7 separate regions of the Homo sapiens genome follow, and all the other regions are linked to region 1. The links are contacts of gene promoters, found by promoter capture Hi-C in blood cells and fetal thymus (Javierre and others, 2016). All regions are on one chromosome and are shown on one strand. The core of a region is centred on a gene start or on the middle of the fragment in contact, and the rest is flanking DNA. Distances in the headings are between cores, read along the strand shown. Region 1 holds the start of CHD4 (chromodomain helicase DNA binding protein 4). Region 2 overlaps C1S (complement C1s). Region 3 overlaps LPCAT3 (lysophosphatidylcholine acyltransferase 3). Region 4 overlaps LRRC23 (leucine rich repeat containing 23). Region 5 overlaps PLEKHG6 (pleckstrin homology and RhoGEF domain containing G6). Region 6 overlaps LOC105369632 (a long non-coding RNA gene). Region 7 holds the start of TPI1 (triosephosphate isomerase 1).

Region 1 (3,651 bases), core at 641-3,140:
TGTAACAGGAAATTGGGAAACAGTGCTCAGCAGTTCTCCCTTGGCACCATTCTGTCGTGTATCATAGTTTGCTTGGTTGCTTATGCTTTTTGAAGGGAGGCCCCCTGGTCTTCCTTGATTCTCCATGGTGCGGAGCTCGGCCTTGCTAGGTACTCTGTCAACACAGGTTGAATGAACATGAGTAGTGGTGAGTAGCGGGAGGGCAGGCCTTCACTCTTGGTGTGTATAGAGCAGGAACCTGAGTTCACATCGTGATGGGATGTCCATCCCCAGGAATGGCCTGGGGGTGTTGGTGAAAGATCCCTGACCTGGGGATGTGGTGAGGGGGAGGATTGCTAGAATGTTGAGAGATAGTCTTTGGATGGGAGTTGGTAATTATTATGGGATGCTGTAGGGTGAATTAGACTTCATGTAAATGTTTCATCTGTCAGCTTGGTATTTTGGTTGGTTGGTGTTCCTCAAAACTTAGGAGCTGGAGGTAAGCATCTGGAAAATACCTAGATTTTGGTGGGACTGGGTGGGGCCCTAGGTGGGCTCCCAGCCCCCGAGTGTCTGGAAATGATGGTATGAGGGAAGCTGGGGTCCCAGACATCAGGAGGCTTTTTGCCAGGATACTACTTTGGCCCAGAAAGGGATTAAGGTGTGTGCAAGTGGGGGCGGGGACAAGGAAGCGTGGGTAGCCTGCCTGGCCCTCCCTGCTCTGGGTGTTAGAATAGACTGACAGCGCCTGGAGATGGGGGTGGGAAGAATATGAATATTATGGGATGCCTGGCTCGAAGGGTATAGGGGTGGTAGAGTGGAGATGAAGCATTATGGGATGTGACACTGGGTTGTGTTGGGAGTATTATGGTATGTTTGGTTGACCACGGGCTCCTTGCAATTATTATGGGATGTCAGGATGTGGGTAGGAGAGTAAAATTATTATGGGATAGCTTTCCAGTGTTAGAGGAAAAGAGATTAGATGTCCATCTGTGGGGCGACAGTAGGGCTGTTGATCATTATGGGTTATCTTTTTGATAGAGGAGGGGTACTTACTATAGGCTGTGGAGCTAGAAGAGGGAAGGCTGGGGGTGATGTGAGCCTCTAGACCCTGGCCTGCAGGGACTGAGGGCAGCTCTAGGGGGTTAGTTATTATGGGATGTCAGTATAGAAAGTGGGAGACTGATTATTACGGGATGTGTGTGGGAGGAGGCCGAGTGTCCGTTGTTGTAGTATGGGGGGGGGTGAGTTTCTGACTATTATGGGATATCAAACTGGGGGTGGATGAAGGATGGTTATTATGGGATGTCTGTGGGGGATGGGGCTGAATATTATGGGATATGAGGCATAAGTGCTGCGAGGGGTGCTTATTATGGGATGGCCATGGGGAGGGAGGGGTGATGAATTATTATGGGATGTTAGCATTAGGTCCAAGAGTGAAGAAGAAGTTGGCAAAGGATGTCTATTATGGGATGTCTAAGAGGGTTAGTTGCAAAAGGTCTGCAATATTTTGAGATGTCAGCAGTCTCTGGCATATGTGTATGAAATGTGGGGGGGCAGGGTGTGTGTGTGTTGTGTGTGTGTGTGTGTGTGTGTGTGTGTGTGTGTGTGTGTGTGTTGGGGGGGGGGGTGTCCGTGTGTATTATGGGATGGCCAGGAGGTGGGCGGTTGCCCAGGTGACGCGCGCGCGCCCGCTGCGAAGGGGGCGTGGCCAGTGGTTGCCTGAGCGACGAGGGGGCGGGGGTTGCCCGGGAGACCTGGGGAGGAGGGTGGCGGTAGTGGAAGGGGGGGGTTGGAGTTGGTTGAGGTTATTATGGGCTGTCCGTGGGGGGGCGGGGCCTGTGCGGTGGGATTTCCCGGCCGGTGTTTCAGGCCCTTTAAGAGGCGACGCTGGAGCCGGAGCCATTTTCCCCCCTTCGGCCGCGGCGAGGAGGAGCCGGAGCGGGAGTGACACCGAGCCGGACCCAGCGCGACCTGCGGCGGCTCCGGGGTGAGGAGAGCGCGGGGTTCCCAAAGAGACGCCCCTCACGGCCCTACCAGCCCCGAGGGTCATCCCGTCACCCGCCCCTTCCTCAGGCGTCTCCGGACCCGCGGACCGCCCCTTGCCCAGAGGAGCCGACCCTTCCTTTCCTGGCCCTGCAGGGCGCCCGGCCTCCTCCCCAGCCCCCGCCCTAACCCTGCCGGAGTCTTGCTCCCCGCGACCCCCCGCCTCCGGCTTGGTCTCCCACAATGCCCGGCGCCCACCCCCTCGCCCTTTGATCACTTGCCCCCCGGGACACGTGGCCCGGCCCCCTTCCCGGTGGGACGCTTTCGCCCCCCGCGTCCCTGCCTCCGGCCCCCCGCAGCGCCCGAGCCTCCACGCCCCCTCGTCCCCGCAGCTCTTGAGGAGAACCTGAGTTGTCCCAGAGGACAGCCTTTGGAGAGCTGCCCTGTCTGGGGACTGGCCCCTCCCCGGGCGCAGGGAGGCGCCCCCCCACCCCCAAGTGACCTTGTGTCCCCGAGCGCCTCGCCGCCTGCGGCCTCCCCTGGCCCCCCCGCGCCGCTGCCACTCGGACCCCCTCCCCCGTCACACCCCGCTCGGTCCAGCCCCGCGTCTCCCCTCCCCGCGCTTGCACCAGCCTGCCCTCGGAGGCGTCGCTCCCTCGCTCCGTGGGGGCGCCTGCCGGGGAGCCGGCTTCCGGGCTGCCCCCGAGGAGTGTGGAACTAAGTTCAGCCTGAGCGGTTCGGGTGCCCTGCTAGGGTGGCTGGGGTGGGGGGCGGAAAGAGCGGGTGGGTGTGGGGGAGGGGGACAGTGCGCGTCACTGACTGTTCTGTGTTTCTCCCCCCTCCCCCGCACAGTGACTCGGGCCAGTGTAGAGGTCCTCAGGCCGCCGGCAGGAGCAGCTGGGCCAATTCCCTGGCCGGGAGCGGAAGGGGATGGCGTCGGGCCTGGGCTCCCCGTCCCCCTGCTCGGCGGGCAGTGAGGAGGAGGATATGGATGCACTTTTGAACAACAGCCTGCCCCCACCCCACCCAGGTAACATCTTCCCCAAGGGCCCATGGCGGGAAGGAGACATCTGGGGCTCTCCCGAGTGACTCCTCTGGTGAGGCAGGGCTGTGTTGCTCCGCTGTCTCTGTGCAGAGCCGGAGGTGGAGGGTATCCGAAGGGAGTGGTTCCCTTCTGCGGAGCTCTGGTGTGAGGGGGGTGGAAGCCATGTGCCTCCTGGGCACGGAGATGCCAGCTTGCTGCACTCTGTCTTGAGGAATGCTCTGCAGTTCCCAGTTGAGGGAGCTCTCTGGGCTGGCAGGCATTACCTGGTATGTGGGTCCTCGGAGGAATGCAGGTAGCTGGGACCCCTGGAGGCTTGTGGTGGTGGTGGTGGAGGGGGGCGTTGAGGATTCTGTTTGAAAGACCAGCCGGGCATCTGTGCTAGTAGGATCCTGTGGTTGCTGCTGTGGAAAGGAAAGAGGGAGTGCTGGTTACACTCTATCTGATTATTTTTAGCTTCTGATCGGTTACCGGTTTTCTGTGCTGTCTGAACTGTGTGAAGTTTGAATCGCGCTCCTCAGCAGGATCTGGAGTGCTTAAAGCAGCCAGGCAGATTGCTGGAATGTTTTGAGTGGGGAAGTGATGGGGGCTCGGGGAGGATGTAATAGCCTAGTGAAGAGGGGCAAAAGAAGGGAGGGCACTCC
Region 2 (3,651 bases), core at 942-3,441, 460 kb before region 1:
CCATTCAGTTATACTAATAACTGAATTCAAGTGAAGCTGCTTACTTAAATCCCTTACTAGACAGCCTGGAGGGACTCCAAGTTGAGCACAATGGGCTGTGAACTTAGACAGACCTGGGCTCAAAGCCTGCCTTTGCCACTTGCTAACTCTGTGAACTTGCACCCCACCCATTCACATTTGACATTGGTCAGATAAGACCAATGACACCTAGCTCACAGGGCTGTTATACGGACACGAATGAGATAATAAATGCAACAAATCAGCTCAGTCTTCAGCTTTCAGTACCACCCAGGATGGTTATTATCCTATTGGATTTGCCTCAGCCTTCTGCTACCCAACTCTTATCTTCCTCATTCTTTGAATTCCTCTATATCTTGCTGCCCTATAAACTTTTAATATAATAACTAGGCTATTTAGCTAGACTTGTTTCTGAGTGTTGATTACTCACACACTCTCAGCTTTCAGGCCCTGTTTTTAGCAGTTCTGTATCTTCTCACTGCAGCTACATTACCAGACACCAACTGTCGCTGGCTGACGTTTCTATTTCCTTCCAGTTGGCCTGGCTTCAGTGCGGCTGAGGAGGTTCCCCACGGCCCTGGCAGCCCACGGCACAGTGATACTGCCACCTCACTGAGCTGGACTCTGGCAGGTCACTGTTCAGTCCTTTCCCAAGAGGATTACAGTTGCTTTCAGAAGGTGACTCCCAGTCACCCATGGCTATCATCTCTCCCCAAGCCTCAGCCCTCCTTACCTGGAACACATTTCGGCAGCTCCGGGCCCAGCACCTCATTCACCCAGCTCCCGTTACCAGCACAGTGATACTCCCCTGGAATAGCACAGAGAACACAGGCCACACTCACCACCACATCTTCCTTCTTCCATTCCCCCCTCCGACCCCAACACCCTGCCCCGTTCCTTCAGAACCTCAGCTCGTCTAGGATTCAAGTAGTAAATCAGATTAAATCAGCCAGAAAAAAAATATCTTCCTCCAAACAATCCCTCAGGCCTCTAGCCTGCCAGGGAGACAAAGGGAACATCTCCAAAGCAGAAGGAAAGAAGGCATCGGGAAAGTGGCGAAATAAATACAGAGCAATGCAGAGAACGTATTAGGGTCTCATTCAGCCCTGCACCTAGCATGACCAAAGCCTCTACATCAAGAAAGCCAGTCAGTGTAGTTTGGTGGCTTAAAGCTGAAGGCATTGCTCCTGTGGGTTTTACATGAAATAACTGGTCAAAAGGTGGGTAATCCCATGAAATGGATGTTGTAGGGGAATTCCTGCTGCAGCTGTGAACTCAGTTGGTGACCTCTATGATTCCCTGAGGCTGATGCTCCCCTGAACTTGCCCTGCTCCAGATGAAAACTGTATCTTTGGACGAAGCCAAGGGGATGAACAATGTCTGTCCTATCGCCTTCATTTGTCTCCAAACTCTGTCTCTGGCACAGATTATGCTATCCACCCTCCAACACCTTCTCACTCTCTCTCTCTCTTCTCCAGTAGAAGAAACCTACCACCTCCTCCATTTTCCATGTAGTAATATGGCTCCTCACAAGTGTAGCGGATGACAGAACCAAACAAAGTGCTCTCTGGGTCTTCAACTTTACCATTCTCAATGGATTCAGGAATGCCACAGTCCACAGCTACCAGACGAAGGAAGGAGAGCGATGGTCAGGACAGCCACTTCCTCCAAGGAAGAGTCATGGGGCCAGGTTCATCCTCACTGCTTCCCCACCCCATATCCACAGGCACACCTGGGATGAACCTCCCCACACCAGCCTCTCTGTGGCCATCCTCCCCAACTGGCATCTCTCAGCTCTCTCACCCGCTGAGATGCCAATTCAGATGGCCCCATGAAAGCCGTAGTGAAGAGCCTGGTTCTCAGTGGTTGGTGAAGGCCCAGTGGAAGCCACAAATGCACCCACGTGGGGCTACTAACTCGACCTATCCCATAGCCCCTTTCTTGGAAAGAAACATGCCGATCTAGTTGGCCTGGGACCAGATGCGGGGCTGGGACTAGAAAAGCTTCCATGACTGGCTTCCCTTCAAAAACCCAACCCACTCCCTCACATGCCTAAGAGGAAACCATGCATTTGAATTTTGATGTGCTGATCTTTCCATTCTCTCTGAGAGAAAAAGAAAGACTTCCACTTTGAAGAGACACATACGTTGACATTTCAGTTTGGAATTACTCCACTTTCCATTGCTTTGACAAGTCGAATAGAAAGATGTTGCACCAACACGTCCCTGGAGAATAATAAACATCACCACTTATTTCTGAAGAGAGATATGGGAAACCAAAATCAAAACTGGAATTGATCTCTGGCCTTGGATCAATGAGGAGTCCTCACCACAAGAAGCTTGGGAACATCTTAGCAGACCTAAAGCACCCAGGAGATGAGGCTGACAGAAAGCTTTGCCCCAACGTGTCAACTCCCCTTCCTCAAGAAGACTGAAGGCAGAGAGAATGCCAAGCTGGCCAGGCAGCTCCATGACTCACAAGGGAGAACTACAGATCTTAAGCTGTTGTGTTTATGGGAAAGGTGTTATACCTTGATCACACACATACATTGGGTAAACAACTGGACAATTTCAGTCCGCTCATCCTGATCTGGGGCCAGGGACTGGGGAGAAGCCAAGGTGGTACTTTACCTCCACAACTTCAAACCCATCCAGACAGGTTATCTGCACCACATCTCTAAAGACATATTTTGCCTTCGCAGGCTCCCAAACAGAATTGGGAGTGTCTTCCTTAGGGCAGGGCATTGCTTGAAAGAACAGAAGTTGGGACAGGAGGAAAAAATTACTAAATAGTTGAAGACTCTCATTCTATTTACATCATTCTCACACTTTCTAAAATCGTCCAGTTGTCCTCAATCCTGATGCTTAACATTCCAATACAGCAGATGTCTAAAATCATATGGCATTACCAACTAACCACCCGCAAGCTGTCTGCAGTCTCAGGTCTAGTTAAAGGATTACTAGAGGTTGAGGCATTTCTAGCAACCGTTGACTGGTTTAGATTTTCCTGAAGAAGTGAAGTATCTCAGGATTCTATCAGAACAACAATCTATCTGTTTTTTAAATTATTGTTGCTTTGTTTTTGTTTTGTTTTAGAGACAAGGTTTTGCTCTGTTGCCCAGAGTGGACTCAAACTCCTACTTCCTGGGCTCAAGGGATCCTCCTGCCTCAGCCTCCCTCGGTAGCTGAGATCACAGGTGCTTCCAGTGTGCCTGGATCATCTACCTGCTTTGATCCCACATTGTTTGGGGACTTTGGTATCACCAACCAAAGAGGCACTTCTAAGTTACTCACGATCTCCATGATAGCGAAGTTTCCAGCCCTTTTTTTGCCCTGTTAGATCAGTTTGGAAGATGATATCAAGAGCATTACTCTTGGTTTCAATATTTAGAGGCCCAGGGAATCCATGACCACAGTAAGGACCAAATTGCCGATCTCCTGCAACAAACTGAACAAAATGATGAAATCAGAAGAGGGAAAGAACTAAAGGGAAGAGGTAAAATTGGGAAGTGGGAGATACAAATAAAAGAGGCATTAAATGTCACATAAAATAAGAAGAAAATAAGGGTCAGGAGAAAAGATAATTTTATCTTCAGGCTGAGTGCAGTGGCTCACACCTATAATCCCAGCACTT
Region 3 (3,651 bases), core at 1-2,500, 400 kb before region 1:
TTTGTAGTACTTGATGTCCTGATAGTACCTTTTTGGAATGTCATTGGCCAGGCGCGGTGGCTCACGCCTGTAATCCCAGCACTTTGGGAGGCCGAGGCAGGCAGATCACCTGAGGTCAGGAGTTGGAGACTAGCCTGGCCAACATGGTGAAACCCATTTCTATTAAAAAGATAAAAATTAGCTGGGCATGGTGGCACATGCCTGTAGTCCCAGCTACTTGGGAAGCTGAGACAGGATAATCGCTGGAACCCAGGAGGCAGAGGTTGTAGTGAGCCGAGATTGCACCATGGCACTCCAGCCTGGGTGACAGAAAAAAAAAGAAAGGTCATTGTATCCTGTACTCTTTGGAATAAACAAAACTCTTAGATTCCTTATGGTTTAGTTTTTCCCATTTGTAGGCCTGACAGATAGGAAAGTTGGGCCTACAAAAATTGAGTAACTTGCTTAAAGTCACATTCAGTTCTGCCTGACTCCAGAGTTCCTGCTCTGGATGTTATCTGAGGAATAAAGAGATGTTGTTGTTATTATGTTCACATTGTTATTATGTTCACATTGTTATTATGTTCATTATCATGATCATCACATACACCATCTGTTTCACACTTTTGATAAGAAGGTTAGATACAGAGGAGTTGTGTTTTTTGTTTTTTTTTTGAGATGGAGTCTCACTTTGTTGCCCAGGCTGGAGTGCAGAGGTACAATCTCAGCTCACTGCAACCTCCACCTCCGAGGTTCCAGCAATTCTCCTGCCTCAGCCTCCGGAGTAGCTGGGATTACAGGCGTGAGCCACCACACCCAGAGGAGGAATTTTTTTAATAAGGTTATTGGACTAATGGCTCCATCTTTTTTGTGTTGCATCAACCACCTTAAGCAATATAGCATTCTCCTGATTGATCTCCTTACGTTTCTTAATATAAGTAATAAATTGTGACTTGTAGCTTTAACAAAAATTAGGTTCCCTAGTTGCAGCTGCCAGGGAAAGCTAGTCTAATATCAAAGCAAACCATCCTTCTTCTCAAGCACAGAGTTTTTAAGATAGGAGTGTGTGTGTATTGACATTTTCCTAGCAGTGGCTGAAGTCAAGGACCAGGAGATTTAGGGCCCACTTGGAGTTCTTATGGTGAAACAGTAGTAGCTTCCTAGAGACCTTTAAAGCTTATCTGTAATTTGTATAGTTCAGAAGATACTGTATACATCATTATTTCTCCCTGCTTTCAAAACAGGAAGGGGGTGTGGAGAGTAACACACTAAAAAAAGGATAAGTAATTAATTTCTGGGTAAGAATTTCCTTTTGGCTTAAAATGGACTGATGGTGTAAGTTCCTCCCTTTGCAAGCAGAAGCTTTGAAGATAGTGAGCTAGATGAAGCTCTGGACATCTTGAATGAAGTATTCTGTATAAGAACCAAGTGTATAATAACTGTTAGTAATAGAGGCTGCTCATAGAAATGTCATTGCATTATAATTGTAGGGACAGTTTGTCAGAGAGTAGGTAGAAGATTATCAGACCCAGGTTTTGTTCTTGGCTCACATGAAGTCATCAAGTAGGCTATTTAAATGCTTCACTTTAACCATAGGCTAAGATTAAATTAAAAATAAAAAGCTTTTGTCATGGCCGGGCACAGTGGCTCATGCCTGTAATCCCAGCACTTTGGGAGGCTGAGGTGGGTGGATCACCTGAGGTCAGGAATTTGAGACTGGTCTGACCAACATGGTGAAACCCTGTCTCTACTAAAAATACAAAAATTAGCCGGGCACGGTGGTGCACGCCTGTAATCCCAGCTACTCGGGAGGCTGAGGCAGGAGAATCGCTTGAACCTGGGAGGGGGAGGTTGCAGTGAGCCGAGATCGTACCATTGCACTCCAGCCTGGGGGACAGAGTGAGACTCCGTCTCAAAAAAAAAAAAAAAAAAAGCTTTTGTCAATTAAAGATGCTTGTCAGTACTGAGTATTCATGTTGCTATGGCACTTTTATAAGAAAACTGTACACGGTCATATCTGCTTCCGAAAATAATACATAGTGAGATAGTAATTTTACAGGCAATTAAGAATTTGCTGGCCAGGCGCGGTGGCTTACACCTGTAATCCCAGCACTTTGGAAAGCCAAGGTGGGTGGATCACCTGAGGTCAGGAGTTTGAGACCAGCCTGGCCAACATGGCGAAACCCTGTCTCTACTAAAAAAAAAAATCCAAAAAATTAGCCGGGCATGGTGGCAGGCGCTTGTAATCCCAGCAACTTGGGAGGCTGAGGCAGGAGAATCACTTGAACCCGGGAGGCAGAGGTTGCAGTGAGCCGAGATCGCGCCATTGCACTCCACCTGGGCAACAAGAGCAAAAACTCCGTCTCAAAAAAAAAAGAATTTGCTATAATAGAAGATCCATGTGTACATTCTGTATGCAAATCTTAGGAAGATATTAGATCCCAGAAGGTTAAAGTTCCGATCTCTATATATTTGTATATGCTTTAAGGAGAAGTGGCATCCATGTAGATGTGGTAAATGGCTTATAACTCTCGAGGTTTCCAATTTCTGCTGTGGTAGCAATTCTAAACTCAGATGGACTTGGACACTACTCTGGATTACTGTCCCTAAATATCAACTACTGTTTATAAGCCAGCAGAGGCCAACTGAAATAGTACACATAAAGTTCCTACAGCATATCCCTCAGTCAGAAGTGGAAAAGATTGATTAAAGTTGGAGTATAAACATATGGGGCCCTGACCAAAAATATTGAACCGTACTACTAGAAATCCCCATTCTTTAGCTAAAGGATAATCTGACTTCACTTTTAATTCTTCATTGACTATTGGTGCTCTGAAAGAATAGGAAATAATAGCAAAACATGGGAACTCCTAGATAGCATACATTTATTTTTAAAATGTATACCATCGGCCAGGCACCATGGCTCACGCCTGTAATCCCAGCACTTTGGGAGGCCAAGGTGGGCGGATCATTTGAGGTCAGGAGTTGGAGACCACCCTGGGCAACATGGTGAAACCCCATCTCTACTAAAAATACAAAAACTAACTGGGTGTGGTAGCACACACCTGTAATCCCAGCTACTCAGGAGGCTGAGGCAGTAGAACTGCTTGAACCTGGAAGACAGAGGTTGCAGGGAGCCAAGATCACGCCACTGTACTATAGCCTGGGAGAAAACAAACAAAAAACATATGGTCAACTTCCCAAGTAAACTGACCAATGTCAGTTTAGGTTCAGTCTTACTGTAGGAGTGCCTGCCGTAGGCCAGCGCCTCTCAACCTTTCCACTAAGTACATTAAGATCCTAACAGTAATCATTGGGACCCCAGGTCATCGTCTCAACAGAAGCTCCAGATTTCTTCAAGTCTTGGCCCTCTTGTTTTATATCAAAATTTTATGTATATTATTTTTATATTTTCAAAAATTCTCCCCAGATCATCAAGTAATATTGAGATGCTGACATAGAAAAAAGTAGATTTCCAGCTGGTATGATCAGTGATAAATTGGACTTCATCAAAATTAAAAGCTTTTGTGCACCAAAGGATACTATCAAGAAAGTAAAAAGCTATCCCACAGAATAGGAGAAAATATTTGTAAATCATAAGTCTAGTATTCAGATGTCTAAAGAACTCTTAGAATTCAACAATAAAAAGATAACCCAGTTTACAAAATGGAT
Region 4 (3,651 bases), core at 822-3,321, 300 kb before region 1:
ATAATGGGCTTTGGTTGCCAGTTGCTAGGAATGGGGCCTCTGGGGGACTCTCGGGGTTCCAGTGTCCCTAGAAACACTGTGAGGACTGGCCTGCCAAGCCTTGCCAGATTTACTGCAGAGGTGCTGTGTGACCCCGCTCTGGTCCTGCTTCTGCCCTTCAAGGAATCCCTAAGTGCCATATTCTACTCTGTAATACATTCATGTGTTCTTTTGGTGCAGCAAAGCTAGGCCACAACCCTGTCTTGTAGCTGGGGAGGAGAGGGCAAATTTTCCTCACAGGGAGAGACATTTTCTGTGATCACACCTAAATGGAGGGTAGAAGGTAGGACCCAGCCTGGGCAACATAGCGAGACCCCATCTGTACAAAAGCTAAAAATAAAAAAATTAGCTGGGCGTGATGGCATACACCTGTAGTCCTTGCTACTTAGCTGAGGAGGAGGGATTGCTTGACCCCAGGAGTTTGAGATTACAGTGAGCCGAGATCGAGCCACTGCACTCCACCCTGTAGGACCTAGGTCAGTGGACAAGGAACTGGGATCTAAGCTGGAGTTTAGGGTGGTGGATGCTCGGTTCGTGCTCTCCACAAAGAGAACCTAAGGCTATGGATGGGTTGGAGCCTCCCAACCTGAAGAATAAACTTCATCTCCTAATGTGCCTCATTATATGATACTCTGTTTTTATTTTATTTTTATTGAGACAGGGTCTCACTATGTCACCCCGGTTGGGGGTGCAGTGGCATGATCATAGCTCACTGCAGCCTTGAATTCCTGGGCTCAAGTGATCCTCTCACCTTAGCTTCCTAAGTACCTCCAGGCATGTGCCACCACACCTGGCTAATGTTTAAATTTTTTGTAGAGACTGGGTCTCACTATGTTGCCCAGGTTTGTCTTGAACGCCTGGCCTCAAGCAGTCCTCTTGCCTTGGCCCCCCCAAAGTGCTGGGATTACAGGCGTGAGCCACCATGCCTGGAATTTTATTTATTTTCATGTTCTGGCTTTAAGCTTTTATGAAATCTATTTAAGTGTTTCAGCCTGATCTCATGGTCGTGCTGAGCCTCATGCAGTGTTTCTCACCAGGAGGGCTACAGGAACTTTGTACTGGACTCTGCCATACATTGTTGGATGCTTAGCATCTCTGGCCCCAGAGGCACCTGCCAATCATTGAGACACCCTCACCCCCCTCCACACACACACCCGACTTACTCTCAAAACATCCCCATTTAATAGCCACTCAGGAAGGGTCCATCATGCCTGTCTAGATCATTAACAGGAAGATGGCACAGATACACACCCCACCAGATCCGTGTGGCAGAGTTCATGAATAAGAGAATGCCCAGGGGGTCAGGATGAGAGTTGGGGCTTCCAGATGCAACCACCTCTCCCTACTTGGAGATGCTCTTTCCATTACCAGCTCAAGAATCTGGTCTTGTTGACTAAGGAAAGAGGCAGTTTCCTTACATGTTTGCTGAAATAAACACACATAAAGTCCTCCATCCGACAAGAGTTGCTGATCTTCAGTGCCTTTCTACCAAAAGATTTTCTTACAAATGTCCTTCTCTCCTCAAATCTGAGCACATCTTGTGTTTTTTTAATCAGTAAAAAGGTCATCCCTTACAGGTGGGGCTCAGGAGAAGAGAGGCAGGAAATGGGAAGGTGAATTGGGACCGAGGAAATGGAGAAGGGCAGTGGAAACTTATATAGGATAGGGTGAGGAAAAAAGAGTTGGAGCCAGACTGTGAGCCCCTTAGGAACAGGAATCACCTCTGATTCCTTTCTTTCTTTTAGAGACAGCTCACTCTGTCACCCAGGCTGGAGTGCAGTGGCACAATCATGGCTCACTGCAACCTTGAACTCCTGGGCTCAAGTGATCCTCCAACCTCAGCCTCCTGAGTAGCTGAAACCACAGGTGTGCACCACCAGGCTCAGTTAATTTTTATTTTTAATTTAATATTTTAATTTTTATTTAATATTTTATTTTTGTTTTGTTTTTGAGGCAGGGTCTGGCTCTGTCACCCAGGCTGGAGTGCAGCGGCTTTATCTCAGCTCACTGCAAACTCCACCTCGAGGCTCCAGCGATCCTCCCGCCTAAGTCTCCTGAGTAGCTGGGATTACAGGTGCCTGTCACCATGCCTGGCTAATTTTTGTATTTTTGGTAGAGATGGGATTTTGCCATGTTGCCCAGACTGGTCTTGAACTCCTAGGCTCCAACGATCTGCCCACTTCGGCTTCCCAAAGTGCTAGAACTACAGGTGTGAGCCACCATGCCGGGCCATTATTTTCACTTCTGTAGAAACATGGTCTCACTAGGTTGCCCAGGCTGGTCCTGAACTCCTGGCCTCAAGTGATCCTTCCTCCTAAAGTGCTGGGAGTACAGGCATGAACCACCATGCCCAGCCTCTGATTGCTTTAAATGTCCCCAAAACACAGCACAAGGCCTGGCACATAGCACATTCTCAATAATTGTGGATTGAATGAATAAAAATTCAGGGGTCACAAGCTATAAGGGATTTAGTGTTGCAACTCAGTGCAGAAGAAAGGAAGGAAAGCCGGGCTTTCCTTGAGAATCCAGCTGTGGGCTAGGACTGGGGGATTGGGCCAGGGAAGAACACAGACTCAAAAGCTGCACCTGGTCAGGGGTAGGGGCAAGGTGGGGCTTGGAGAGGGTGCATACCTCAGGTTGAGGTACTGCAATGATTTCATTTCTCTGGAGAAGCCACTCAGGGTGTCAATCTGGTTGTCTCGAAGATGCAAGGTGGTGAGATTGCTCAGATCCTCCAAGCCTTCCACCTTCTTCAGCATGTTTTGGGCCTAGACCCCCAGGGCACAGTGGATTGATTGAGAGGGAGCAGGGATAGGGAAGAAAGAGAAGTCAGAATGAGATAAAGCAAAAGAGGAAATCCAAGAGGTAGAGAGGGAGGAGTGGAAGAAAGGAGTGGGGGTGAGTAGAGATCAGTATAGAAAGTAAAGAAGTTCAGGAGAAGCTGCCATCCCAGAGAAAGGTCAGCAGTAACCCTCTACCATTCGCCCCATCAAAGCCACTTGGGATGGAGGAGATGCTTCAACCCACCCCTACCCGGCCCAGGAGCCCCCAGGCCACCACTGAGGATTGGCATCAGCACCATCCCAGAATAACGAAGCTTAAGAGTCTAAAAGACTAAATATTTCAGTGGCTTCCTGTGGAGTTATTATATATATAATATATAATATATTATATAATATATAAAATATATATTATATATTATATATTATATACTATTATATATAATATTTATATATTATATATAATATACTATTATATATAATATTTATATATTATATAAAATATATTATATATAATATACTATTATATATATTTATATATTATATATATTATATATAATATATACTATTATATATATTTATGTATTATATATAATTATATATAATATATTATATATAATTATATATAATATATAATTATATATTATATCTAATTATATATATTATATATAATTATATATTATATATAATATATAATTATATATTATATATTTTATATATAATATATAATATATAATATATAATTATATATTATATATTATATGTAATTATATATTATATATAATATATAATTATATAATATATAATATATATTTATATATAATATATAATT
Region 5 (3,651 bases), core at 767-3,266, 280 kb after region 1:
AGTATATGAGCCAGCAACTCCTGGGCACCTGGACTTTCCCAAAGCCTCTCAAGAAACCCGGGGAGCAGCTGGGTCAGGACAAGAGACGAAATGGATGAACAGGGATAGGAAAATGACACCAGGCTTATAGTTCCCATTCTGCTTTTTCTGGCTCTCCAGTCACTTATTCCCAAGGCTGACAGCATTCTCATAAGATGTGGTCTGTTGGCCGGAGCAGGGGAGGGTACCTGGGGGTAGGAAACCTGCCAGGGCCGGGACCTGGGGCAGGACTCCCTCTTTCCCAGGCCTCATCTCCCAACTCCATGTGAAGGGAGGGAAGAAGTGAGAAAAGAGAGGGTGGAGGCGCTGGGCCGATCTGCTTGTCCTGCTGGGGTGCCCTTTTGCCCCACAGGACCCAAATTCAGGTTTGTGTTTCGGGTGCCAAGGAAGGGATGTTACGGGAAAGAAGAACTGGAAGGAAGCAGGGTTTCTGTAAGGGACGTTCAATGCCATCATCTCTGCTAAACTTGCCCCTTGCCCGACCCCAGGAAGAGGCTGGAGGAGGCGGCGGGGGGGGGAGGGGGGCGAGGGGGAGCCCCGAGTACGGGGTAGGGGGTCGGGGGAATGGGCGGGATGGGGCTCTTGGAGGTGCCTCCCAGCGAGCCCAAAGCCTCTCCAGCAACCCTGGGAGAATTTTCTCGGCTTGGTTAAGAGGAGAGACACATGGGGGCAGAGGGGACGGGAAAGGAAAAGGAAATTGGCGCTTAAGCCAGAATGTGACCCCCCTACAAAACTGAGAAGAGGAAGGGAGGGCCCCTAGCAGGATTCTTCTTCCTTTGTACCCATGGAGAGGAAATGCCTCCTTTCCCTGCTGTCTCTGGGGTGGCTCCTAGATTCACCCACTCTCCTCCCAGAACTCCCCAGTGCCGGACTAAAACCGAACTCTGAAACGTGCCCACTGACTTCCTGAGCAACAGATGCGGATGCGTTTCCCCAGTCAGCAGCAGGCCCTACCCAGGCCCCAAAGACCACCCCTTTCTTCTAATGATGACAACGGCAAACATTTATGGAGTGCCCATACAGTGCTGGGCCTTGTGCCTGGCCACTTGCGGACTGTCTGTCCTGCGTGCACTGCAACTCCCCAAGAGGTGAAGTAACTCCCTGACAGCTGCTCGGGCCTCTCCTTCAGACCCTGGCTCTTAGCCTCGGCTGCCTCCTTCAGTCTCCCTGCTTTAATTTCTTGGTCGCCATCTCTGACGGCTCTTTCTGTTCCTGTCTCTGTTCCTTTTCCTCTTCTCAGTCCCTGGGCATTCCCCAAGATTCAGTCTCTTCTCCCTGGAGAAGCTTACTTTCTCTAAAAGTGTGAGTCATCACAGCTAGACCCGCTAGGAATAAATCTGCAAGTCAACGTTTCTGCCAGGGTGAGAAAACAATAGTCTGCCCCCTGGGGATTGCTCTATGAAAGGGACCAACAGAGTTTCTACTGCCCTCTTCAGTGTATAAAGACTGATGGCTCTAGAGAGGATTCCCTAATAATCTGGTGTGAGACAATAGCAGGAAAAGTCATTTCAAAGTTTCAGTTTTCTTTGTTTTGCTAAGGAAGGCCAGGGAGCCTTGGTGCATATCTTGGTTATAGATCTTGACAGATCTTTCCTGTTAGCCTGGAGTGAGACTACCAGGGGACTGAGTTGTTTTGCATAGTAAAATACCCGTAATTTTCAGTAGCTCTTGGGATTCTGAAAGGGAGAAGGTGAGAGTCTGGCTGTTGTTCTGTGACTAAAAACCAAAAAAAAGAGGAGAAAGTTCTGAAGGTGGAGGTGGCAGTTCCGAAGGAAAAAAGGCAGCCTGCCATTCACTGCCAGCCCCACTGGCTATCCTGGGGAGTTGGGGCTCTAGGGACACCGATGCCACTAGCTTGCGCTTTTGTCCCTGGGCTCCCCCTTGAGCCTCTAGCCTTCAGGAAAATGTTTTATTTAACTTTTTTTTTTTTTAGACAAGGTCTCACCCTGTTGTCTGGGTTGTAGTGCAGTGGTGGGAACATAGCTCACCGCAGGCTCTATCTCCCGGGTTCAAGTGATCCTCCCACCTCAGCCTCCCGAGTAGCTGGGACTACAGGCATGCGCCACCAGGCCCAGCTAATTTTTGTATTTTTTGTAAAGATGGGGTTTTGCCATGTTGGCCAGGCTGGGTCTTGAACTTCTGGTCTCAAGCCATCTGCCTGCCTCAGCCTCTCAAAGTGCTGGGATTAGAGGAGGTGAGCCACTACGCCTGGCCAAGAAAATTTGATTAACCACCAGAATGATGTCACTTGCCAGTCAGTCCAGCCTAGTGGAAAGTGTGTTTAGGCTTAGGTGGAAGTGGTGGAGAGAAGTCCCTGCCATGCAGAGGGGACAGTGAACCGAGCCGGAAGCAGGGGACAGGGCAGATGGGAGACCACTGTCATCACAAAACCCACCTGCCTCCCCTTGGGGTGTGTTTTTTGTCCTCCTCTTTCACTTGAATTCCAGGTCTTTGTTTCTGTTTCTTTTGTTCCCAAAGCCCCTAAGATATCTCCACTAGGTTATATCTTGGCTGCCTCAATTTCAAAGCGCTGCTGTTTAAATATTCCTACAGTAAAGCCACCTCACTGAGGAAGCAATAACTAAACAAACACATTTCCCTTTCCCTTTCTAATGACTGCATTTCTGTCTGGGGTCCCATTGCCAATGCAGTGTTCCAAACTGAAGCTTCGGGAGGCCAACTGTGCTCTTTGCCGCTGGGTATCTGGAGTTCCTGAGCCTGTGCCCAGTGCTGGCCCCAGGCTGTGTGCCTAAGCCGAATGACAGCTTTGAATCTCCCTAGGAAGCAGGTAGTCATTGTGTATATCTGTTTTGCAGATGACGAAATTGAAGTTGAGGGAGGTCATATAACTTACCCAAGGTCACATGGCTAGGACCTGGTAGGACCGGTGTCTGAACCTGGATTTTTCTGAATTCAGTATAGACTTTAACCAAAGTATCCCTAAGGCTCCCCCTTCTCTTCCCTCTTCTTTTTTTTTTTTTTTTAAGACAGAGTCTCGCTCTGTCGCCCAGGCTGGAGTGCAGTGGCGCGATCTCGGCTCACTGCAAGCTCCGCCTCCCGGGTTCACGCCATTCTCCTGCCTCAGCCTCCCGAGTAGCTGGGACTACAGGTGCCCGCCACCGCGCCCGGCTAATTTTTTGTCTTTTTTAGTAGAGATGGGGTTTCACCGTGGTCTCAATCTCCTGACCTCGTGATCGGCCCGCCTCGGCCTCCCAAAGTGCTGGGATTACAGGCGTGAGCCACCGCGCCCGGCCTCTTCCCTCTTCTTTAGGTCCTTTCTTCTCCTTTGTTTTTTGTCCCTTTTTGCAATGTCTCCCTAAGGCTGTGGCACTAAACCTTCCATGTTTCACACCCAAACTAGTACAATAAACCTCCTGTCACCAATTTCTCCCTCCTCCAGCCCACCCAGCACACTGCTACCTGATTTCCTGAAAACCTAATTCAAGAGGAAACACACTGATTTCACCCTTGCTCAAGAATTCATGGCAGGGCTATGCACGGTGGCTCACGCCTGTAATCTCAGCACTTTGGGAGGCCGAGATATGCAGATTGCTTAAGCTCAGGAGTTCAAGACCAGCCTGGACAACATGGAAAGACCCTGTCTCCACAAAA
Region 6 (3,651 bases), core at 1,131-3,630, 280 kb before region 1:
TGCTTGAACCTGGGAGGGAGAGTTTGCAGTGAGCAGAGATTGAGCCACTTTACTCCAGCCGCGGCTGCAGAGCGAGACTGTCAAAAAAAACAAACAAACAAAAACCTGCCTGTGCTCTAGCAATCAAATGCAAAGTCCTGGGTGACTGTAGTACTTTCCCTGATTCAGTTTCAAATATCTTCATTCTAGAAGTCAAGCAGGACCTCAAAGAGAAAAAATCTGGCTTTGTGCTGCAGGACACAACAATACCACACTGATGTACCACACACTTTATGAATGTGCTCATAAAGGCGCTGAATGAAGGTTTCCTGTCCCAACATGACTCCATCCTTCACTCTGCTGATCTAAGCATTATTTGCTGTTTCAAAGCCACATACATTAGGCTGAGATTCTCCCTTGACTCCCAGAGCCATGGATGCTGACCCTAATCTTAATGTGGTAAAGATCTGGAAGTCCTTCCATATTGCTAGTTGCATCATTTCTATTTAAACAGGCAATGGGAGGCCAGGTGTGGTGTCTCACGCCTGTAATCCCAGCACTTTGGGAGGCTGCAGATCTCTTGAGTCCAAGAGTTCAAGACCAGCCTGGGCAACATGGCAAGACCTCATCTCTGCAGAAAATTAGCTGAACGTGGTGGTGTGCACCTGTAGTCCCAGCTACTCAGGAGGTGCAGGCAGGAGGATCACCTGTGCCTGGGAAAGTTGAGGCTGCAGTGAGCCATGCTCATGCTACTGCACTCCAGCCTGGGTGATACAGCAAGACCCTGTCTCAATAAATAAATAAATAAACAAACAAACAAACAAACAGGTAATGGAAGCAACGAAGCCTGACAGTCAATGCATGTGGAATGTGTTCAGAATTTTAAGGGTTTCTTTCTCTTTTTTTTTTTTGTTTTTTGTGTTTTGAGACAGAGTCTTGCTCTGTTGCCCAGACGGGAATGCAGTGGTGTGATCTCAGCTCACTGCAACCTCCACCTCCCATGTTCAAGCAATTCTCCTGCCTCACCTTCCCAAGTAGCTGGGATTACAGGCATGTGCCACCATGCCTGGCTAATTTTTGTATTATTAGTAGAGATATTATTTTACATTATTAGTATTATTTCACCATGTTGGCCTGGCTGGTCTTGAACTCCTGACCTCAACTGATACACCCACCTCGGCCTCCTAAAGTGCTGGGATTACAGGCGTGAGCACCGCGCCTGGCCAAGGGTTTCTATTGACAAAGAAGTGAAACTCATTGTGCAAGTCGCCTAGCAAGTGGATCGTGATGGCTTTGTTTATACATCATTGAGGAAGAAAGTAAAGAACTTCTTGGCCTGGCCAGGTATGGTGGCTCATGCCAGTAATCCCAGCACTTTGAGGGACTGAAGCCGAGGATCCCTTGATCATGGCTCAAGGTGACAGTGAGCTACTTCGCCACTGCACTCCAGCCTGTGTGACAGAGTAAGACCCAGTCTCTAAAATATAAGGAAATAATCATAAAAATAAAGAAGTTTTTGAGAGCCACAGAGAAACACTAATAAAAAATCTTGAGGAACTGATAAAAATCACCCTCAGGAGAAAAAGGAAAAGACCAAACTAAAGCTTCATAAATTTACTGAAGTGTTTCATGCTGCAAAATGTCTGAATAATTTTTTTTTTGCATTATTCCTGATATATTACAAGTCCTCAACAGGGCTTTATTTTTTTTCTTTTCTTTTCTTTTCTTTTTTTTTTTTGAGACAGAGTCTTGCTCTGTGGCCCAGGCTGGAGTTCAGTGGCACAATCTCGGCTCACTGCAACCTCTGCCTCCCAGGGTCAAGCAATTCTCCTGCCTCAGCCTCCCTCGTAGCCAGGACTACAGGCACACGCCGCCATGCCTGGCTAATTTTTTGTATATTTAAAGTAGAGATGGGGTTTCACCGTGATGCCCAGGCTGGTCTTGGACTCCTGAGCTCAAACAATCCACCCACTTTCGCCTCCCAAAGTGCTAGAACTACAGGCGTGAGCACCGCGCCTGGCTATTTTCTTTTTTCTTTTCTTTTCTTTTCTTTTTTTTTTTTAAAAAAACAACTTTAGACTTTAGATATATGTGGGGAAAAGCAAAAGAGATCAGATTGTTACTGTGTCTGTGTAGAAAGAAGTAGACATAGGAGACTCCATTTTGTTCTGTACTAAGAAAAATTCTTCTGCCTTGAGATTCTGTTAATCTATAACCTTACCCCCAACCCCGTGCTCTCTGAAACATGTGCTGTGTCAACTCAGAGTTAAATGGATTAAGGGCGGTGCAAGATGTGCTTTGTTAAACAGATGCTTGAAGGCAGCATGCTCCTTAAGAGTCATCACCACTCCCTAATCTCAAGTACCCAGGGACACAAACACTGCGGAAGTCCGCAGGGACCTCTGCCTAGGAAAGCCAGGTATTGTCCAAGGTTTCTCCCCATATGATAGTCTGAAATATGGCCTCGTGGGAAGGGAAAGACCTGACCATCCCCCATCCCGACACCCGTAAAGGTTCTGTGCTGAGGAGGATTAGTAAAAGAGGAAGGAATGCCTCTTGCAGTTGAGACAAGAGGAAGGCATCTGTCACCTGCCTGTCCCTGGGCAATGGAATGTCTTGGTATAAAACCCGATTGTATGCTCCATCTACTGAGATAGGGAAAAACCGCCTTAGGGCTGGAGGTGGGACCTGCGGGCAGCAATACTGCTTTGTAAAGCATTGAGATGTTTATGTGTATGCATATCTAAAAGCACAGCACTTAATCCTTTACATTGTCTATGATGCAAAGACCTTTGTTCACGTGTTTGTCTGCTGACCCTCTCCCCACAATTGTCTTGTGACCCTGACACATCCCCCTCTTCGAGAAACACCCACAAATGATTAATAAATACTAAGGGAACTCAGAGGCTGGCAGGATCCTCCATATGCTGAACGCTGCTTCCCCGGGTCCCCTTATTTCTTTCTCTATACTTTGTGTCTTTTTCTTTCCCAAGTCTCTCGTCCCACCTTACGAGAAACACCCACAGGTGTGGAGGGGCAACCCACCCCTACAGATATATTTAGGGCTGTTTGCATATGTTTATAGAGTATTTAGTTTACTCTAAAAGATGACAAGACAGCTCCCCTCAGTGAGACCCTGGCCTAAATATATTTGCTTTATTTATATAGCAAGAGGATAACATTAAACGTGGAAGCTTTCAATTTGTGGCACTGAATGATGATCTACACAGGGCATCCTTCAAAGGCTACAATTAAGGATCCACTGGCCAGGCATGCTGGCTCACGCCTGTAATCCCAGCACTTTGGGAGGCCAAGGAGGGCAAATCACGAGGTCAGGAGTTCGAGACCAGCCTGACCAATATGGTGAAACCCTGACTCTACTAAGAATACAAAAATTAGCCAGGTGTGGTGGCGCACGCTATAATCCCAGCTACTCAGGAGGCTGGGCAGGAAAATCACTTGAACCCGGGAGGCAGAGGTTGCAGTGAGCCGAGATCCTGTCACTGCACTCCAGCCTGGGCGACAGATCAAGACTCCATCTCAAAAAAAAAAAAAAAGGATCCACCTAACTTTTCAGCAGTACAAGCCCGATTGAGATCTTCTGGTCCGTTTGTTTGCCATTCATGTTTTATGCCTTGAAATTTCTTTTTGATTGCATCCTTGGAGCTTGTA
Region 7 (3,651 bases), core at 732-3,231, 260 kb before region 1:
CCCCTCCCCTTTTTCCTTTTCTGGATCAGCATGGGGACCAAGACAGGCTCCAGGGCCTGACCCTACCCTCTGAGTCTCTGTGGCCCTGGATAGGCTCAAAGGTCCCTTTCTCCAGAGATACCTGCGATGACCTTTGTCTGCTCGAAAACAACCTTCTCAGTGATGCCAGCTTCCCTTTCATCTAGCTTCTCCCCAATGCAGGCGATTACTCCGAGTCCCTCTGCCAGAGCATGGGCCACTTTCTGCCCAATCAGCTGTTGAGAAACAGACTTGGTGAGACATCCTTCTTGGAAAAAGACATCCCTTATCTTCTCTCTTGGCTACTAACCTCATCTGACTCCCCAAAGACATGCCTTCTCTCTGAGTGCCCCAGGACCACCCACGTGGCTCCGCAGTCTTTGATCATGCCAGGGCTAAAGGAAGAGATGAAGCCAAGGTTCAGCAGGGAGCCCACCCTGTGGCTTTCCCCTCAACGAGGAAAGTGAGGGAAGGGTCCCACACACCCCTCTCCACCTCGATCTCACCTGATCTCCCCAGTAAAAGCCCCATTAGTCACTTTGTAGCAGTTCTGCGCAGCCACAGCAATCTTGGGATCTAGCTTCTGCCGGGCGAAGTCGATATAGGCAGTAGGGGGAGCACAAACCACCTCTGAGGACAAGATGGTACCACAGGGGGATGAGACTAAAGAAAGCCTTCATTCCCCACAATTCCTAACCAGTGCCCTGGAGCCCCCCAGCCCTCACCCTCTTCTTCTTGGTTCTGCTCTCCCCCTTTTCACCCCAGCAAGATGACCTTTGTCCATTTTCCAGCCCAGGCTGGGTCTGCACTCAACTCGAAGAGCCTTCCAGATACCCCTGAGAGGCCACGGCCCTCACCCTGCCCTCTGCTCTTTTAACAGCTGGGGCTCCAATTTCCTCGAGCTATTCTCGGCATAGGCACCTCACAGACTCAGCATTCTCCAGGGAGCAACCCTGCTTCCCTTCTAAAATAGCCCATCCTCACCTCCCCTTTGCAAGGCAAGGATTTGTAGCAAAAGGAGAGGGGCCAACTCCTGGGGTTTGTATTGAGGCCTCTGGGGAATGAACGAGAAGGGGATGCCTCTTTGGATCAGGCCCGCGGCTCTCCGATTTCGGTGGAGGGAGGAAGGAGGATGGAGGAGAGCATCCTTTGCCCGTGGGTGGCAGAGACCTAACTGACTCAGAGGCCTTGCGCTTTGCTGTTTCCAGGTTGGGGAAAGCGGTAGGATGGCTCCTCACTCCCAAATCGCTCAGCCTGTTTGGCACGGGCTCGGTCCCTTCCGTGGAAGGCGGGAGTCGTTCAGGTTGCCGAAGGGAAGGGGTCAGATCTGGGGCTCAGGGAGCCCGAGCAGCTCGGCGCGGGGACGCGGACGCCGGCGAGGAAGGGGAGGAGTCTGGGGCTACGTGCGGCGGCGCACGGCGCGGGAGGCCAGGGCGCAGGGAGCGGGAAGCCCACGCGGCCCAGCCTCCCCCGGTCTCCCGCAGAGCCTCGGGCTCCGCTCCTAACCCCGTCGCCTGGCGGGCACAGCCCCAGTGCGCGCCCCGGGGCCACCTTCCTCCAGGAGACCCAAAACGTCCTTACCTGCCCCATAGTCCAAGGGGCATCATGTGCTCCGCCCTGCCCCCTCGACGCACCGACGGGGCTGCGGCTGCGAGGCCCCTGCCCGGACCCCAGCGGCCCTCGTCCCACAGCCCTGCATCAGGTCCGCGCGGATACCGGCCTCGGGGCCTCGGGGCCTCGGGAGAGGGCGCTGCCACTCCTGCCCCGGCCCCGGCCCCGGCCCGGCCAGACCCCTCCTCGGCGAGGGCTTACCGGTGTCGGCCGGCACCTTGGCCGCGTTCAGAGTGCCGATGAGCTCCCCCAGACTCTGCTTCCGCCCGTTCATCTTCCAGTTTCCCCCAACGAAGAACTTCCTGGAGGGCGCCATGGCGCTGGAGCCGAGGCGCTGAAGGTCAGTGTCTGCGCGCAGTCGCGGCCACTGCCCACTTATATAGAGCGCCGCGAAGTGGAACTCCGCCTCCTCGCCGTCCTCCGCCATGGCCCGCCCAGTCCCCCGGAGCCCTGCCCCCCGCCCGCCCTCCTGCCGCCGCCCCGGCCGCCGCCCGATGATGCACTGTTCCGACGTTCCCCCTTCTTGTGGCAACGTTCTAGGAGAGTCGGGGGCTCGGTCGCCTCCGCCTCGATTGCGGGGCTTTCGGGACAAGGCGAGACCTGTGAGCTCCGGCGCTCAGGGGAACCCTCGCTTGGCGACTTGAGTCCCCCACGGGGCCAGAAGTGGTTTTCAAGCGGAACTAGCTGGTGGCAACTTGGCCGTAGCCCAGATCGCCCACTGGGGCAGAGAGGGCCCCTCTCCAACTGTGGGATAGACAACCTCCTTCGCCCATCGGAGCAGCTCATGCCCGACTGCTGAGCAGGCACCCTTGTACCCAGGGAGTCTACCTGAGTGAAAACTTGCGGGACAAATGCAGGGTTCACAGCGGGAGGGGCAGCCCACACAGGCATAGGCCGCCAGGATCATCCCAACCCTCGCCCCGGCTGGCAAGGCCTGGCAGGAACTGCAGGGACTGAGTCCCAGCCTGAAGCCAGCTAGCCAGTTAGGGACATTTGGGAAATCCTCCACTCCTGTGTGAATAAAGAGAGGGAAGGGTTCTTCACTCCATCTTTCCTTGGCTTTGTGTCGGCATTTAGTCACTCTACTCCACCTCCCCACCCAACCCCAATTTTCCTAGAGCTCTAGAACCAGTGAAAAGTGGAGACTTGACTTTGGCAGGGAGGCGGCCAGAGTTAGGAGTTTTCTTAAGCGCCCTCCTGCTAACCCCAGGAAGGTAAGCCTCTCCCCCAAGGTATCAAACAGGACACAATTTAGCCGTTGTACTTTTATTCACATCGTGTATTTTGGCATTTTCCAGAGAAGGACAAGGAAGAGACAGGGTGGGGGAAAGACTGAGGCAGGAGGGCAAGTCGGGGGGTCCCTATTTCCCTCACATCCCTCCTTGACCAACCACACAGGGGCAAACAAAGGGGGAGGGGAGGCACAGGTGATCGCTCCACTGGGAGAGGATGCACAAAGCTACACCCACGCGCACAAACGAGACCCCTCCCTCCACACCAGGGGGCTGGGCGGGGCGACACAGAGAAGCAGAGCACTGTGGATTCCGGGGGCAGGGGAAGCAACAAAGTCTCCTTACAGACAGGTGGCCGGCCCCTCCCGTCCCCGTCCTGCTCCATCCCCAGAGTCTATCGCTGCCCCTCTGCTCTGCCCAGCCATTCTCCCACGGCCTCCAGCTTCTTCCCTGCTGCCGGGGACAAAAGGAAAAAGGGTACAGAGCAGAGGGGCTGAAGTCCATCCCTCAGCCCCTCTCCCTCATGCCAGGTGGTCTTCCCCTGCCCTCATTGGTAAGGGGTGAGGCAGGCTCTTAGCTGGCCACTCTCTGGTAGAAGTAGATGTAGCCCAGGTCCTTGGGCGGCTTCTCGGAGGCACACACTTTCTGGTCATTGTAGATCACCCATCTGGGGAAGTGGGGAAAACAGAAAAGGATGAACAAACTGGGCATTCAAAGTGGCATCATGTAGTCTCTCAGACATGGCCCCTGGAAGTGCTCTCCACACTCTCTGCCCATACCCCAAATCCAC

Evidence for each region. The method cuts DNA at HindIII sites, captures the fragments that hold promoters and counts their contacts. A CHiCAGO score of 5 or more calls a contact.
Region 2: a fragment that was not itself captured here is called in contact with the fragment with the promoter of CHD4 in region 1 in 1 of 17 cell types (activated CD4 T cells); the score reaches 6.8 in activated CD4 T cells.
Region 3: a fragment that was not itself captured here is called in contact with the fragment with the promoter of CHD4 in region 1 in 1 of 17 cell types (activated CD4 T cells); the score reaches 5.9 in activated CD4 T cells.
Region 4: a contact is called between a fragment that was not itself captured here and the fragment with the promoter of CHD4 in region 1, in 5 of 17 cell types (naive CD4 T cells, activated CD4 T cells, non-activated CD4 T cells and 2 more). The highest score is 9.1, in naive CD4 T cells.
Region 5: a fragment that was not itself captured here is called in contact with the fragment with the promoter of CHD4 in region 1 in 4 of 17 cell types (total CD4 T cells, naive CD8 T cells, non-activated CD4 T cells and 1 more); the score reaches 7.0 in total CD4 T cells.
Region 6: a fragment that was not itself captured here is called in contact with the fragment with the promoter of CHD4 in region 1 in 3 of 17 cell types (naive CD4 T cells, total CD8 T cells and activated CD4 T cells); the score reaches 6.3 in naive CD4 T cells.
Region 7: the fragment with the promoter of TPI1 here is called in contact with the fragment with the promoter of CHD4 in region 1 in 2 of 17 cell types (activated CD4 T cells and naive CD4 T cells); the score reaches 7.5 in activated CD4 T cells.

What each region holds. Positions count from the first base shown.
Region 1 is chr12:6,605,618-6,609,268 of GRCh38, reverse strand. CHD4 (chromodomain helicase DNA binding protein 4) reads left to right here and starts at 1,890. Exons shown (of 40, transcript NM_001273.5): 1 at 1,890-1,969; 2 at 2,818-2,995. The coding sequence starts at 2,896. It overlaps LOC124902867 (a long non-coding RNA gene), which reads right to left and starts at 3,383. Exons shown (of 2, transcript XR_007063193.1): 1 at 3,274-3,383; 2 at 1-154. RefSeq lists enhancers at 1,270-1,419, 3,160-3,319 and silencers at 2,010-2,109, 2,520-2,579, 2,760-2,809. The HindIII fragment of the contact is 30,599 bases long and covers 1-3,651 here.
Region 2 is chr12:7,065,631-7,069,281 of GRCh38, reverse strand. It overlaps C1S (complement C1s), which reads right to left. Exons shown (of 12, transcript NM_001734.5): 7 at 3,312-3,465; 8 at 2,649-2,764; 9 at 2,165-2,243; 10 at 1,511-1,639; 11 at 752-826. Among named protein-coding and RNA genes, the nearest start is that of C1S, 6.7 kb to the right of the region's middle. The HindIII fragment of the contact is 335 bases long and covers 2,024-2,358 here.
Region 3 is chr12:7,005,755-7,009,405 of GRCh38, reverse strand. All of the region lies in intron 1 of LPCAT3 (lysophosphatidylcholine acyltransferase 3), which reads left to right. Among named protein-coding and RNA genes, the nearest start is that of LPCAT3, 11 kb to the left of the region's middle. The HindIII fragment of the contact is 186 bases long and covers 1,158-1,343 here.
Region 4 is chr12:6,909,046-6,912,696 of GRCh38, reverse strand. It overlaps LRRC23 (leucine rich repeat containing 23), which reads right to left. Exons shown (of 8, transcript NM_001135217.2): 6 at 2,671-2,807. Among named protein-coding and RNA genes, the nearest start is that of ENO2, 3.7 kb to the left of the region's middle. The HindIII fragment of the contact is 2,135 bases long and covers 1,004-3,138 here.
Region 5 is chr12:6,321,199-6,324,849 of GRCh38, reverse strand. The region is part of intron 13 of PLEKHG6 (pleckstrin homology and RhoGEF domain containing G6); the gene reads right to left. Among named protein-coding and RNA genes, the nearest start is that of PLEKHG6, 12 kb to the right of the region's middle. RefSeq lists enhancers at 1-293, 294-835, 1,279-1,368, 1,419-1,488, 1,377-1,918. The HindIII fragment of the contact is 1,382 bases long and covers 1,326-2,707 here.
Region 6 is chr12:6,885,240-6,888,890 of GRCh38, reverse strand. All of the region lies in intron 1 of LOC105369632 (a long non-coding RNA gene), which reads left to right. It also overlaps the pseudogene DSTNP2. Among named protein-coding and RNA genes, the nearest start is that of SPSB2, 14 kb to the right of the region's middle. RefSeq lists an enhancer at 2,190-2,737. The HindIII fragment of the contact is 1,590 bases long and covers 1,586-3,175 here.
Region 7 is chr12:6,865,861-6,869,511 of GRCh38, reverse strand. It overlaps TPI1 (triosephosphate isomerase 1), which reads right to left and starts at 1,981. Exons shown (of 7, transcript NM_000365.6): 1 at 1,831-1,981; 2 at 525-648; 3 at 329-413; 4 at 122-254. The coding sequence starts at 1,945. It overlaps USP5 (ubiquitin specific peptidase 5), which reads right to left. Exons shown (of 20, transcript NM_001098536.2): 20 at 2,880-3,528. The coding sequence ends at 3,435. RefSeq lists silencers at 1,375-1,814, 2,085-2,134 and enhancers at 2,404-3,065, 3,066-3,651. The HindIII fragment of the contact is 21,039 bases long and covers 1-3,651 here.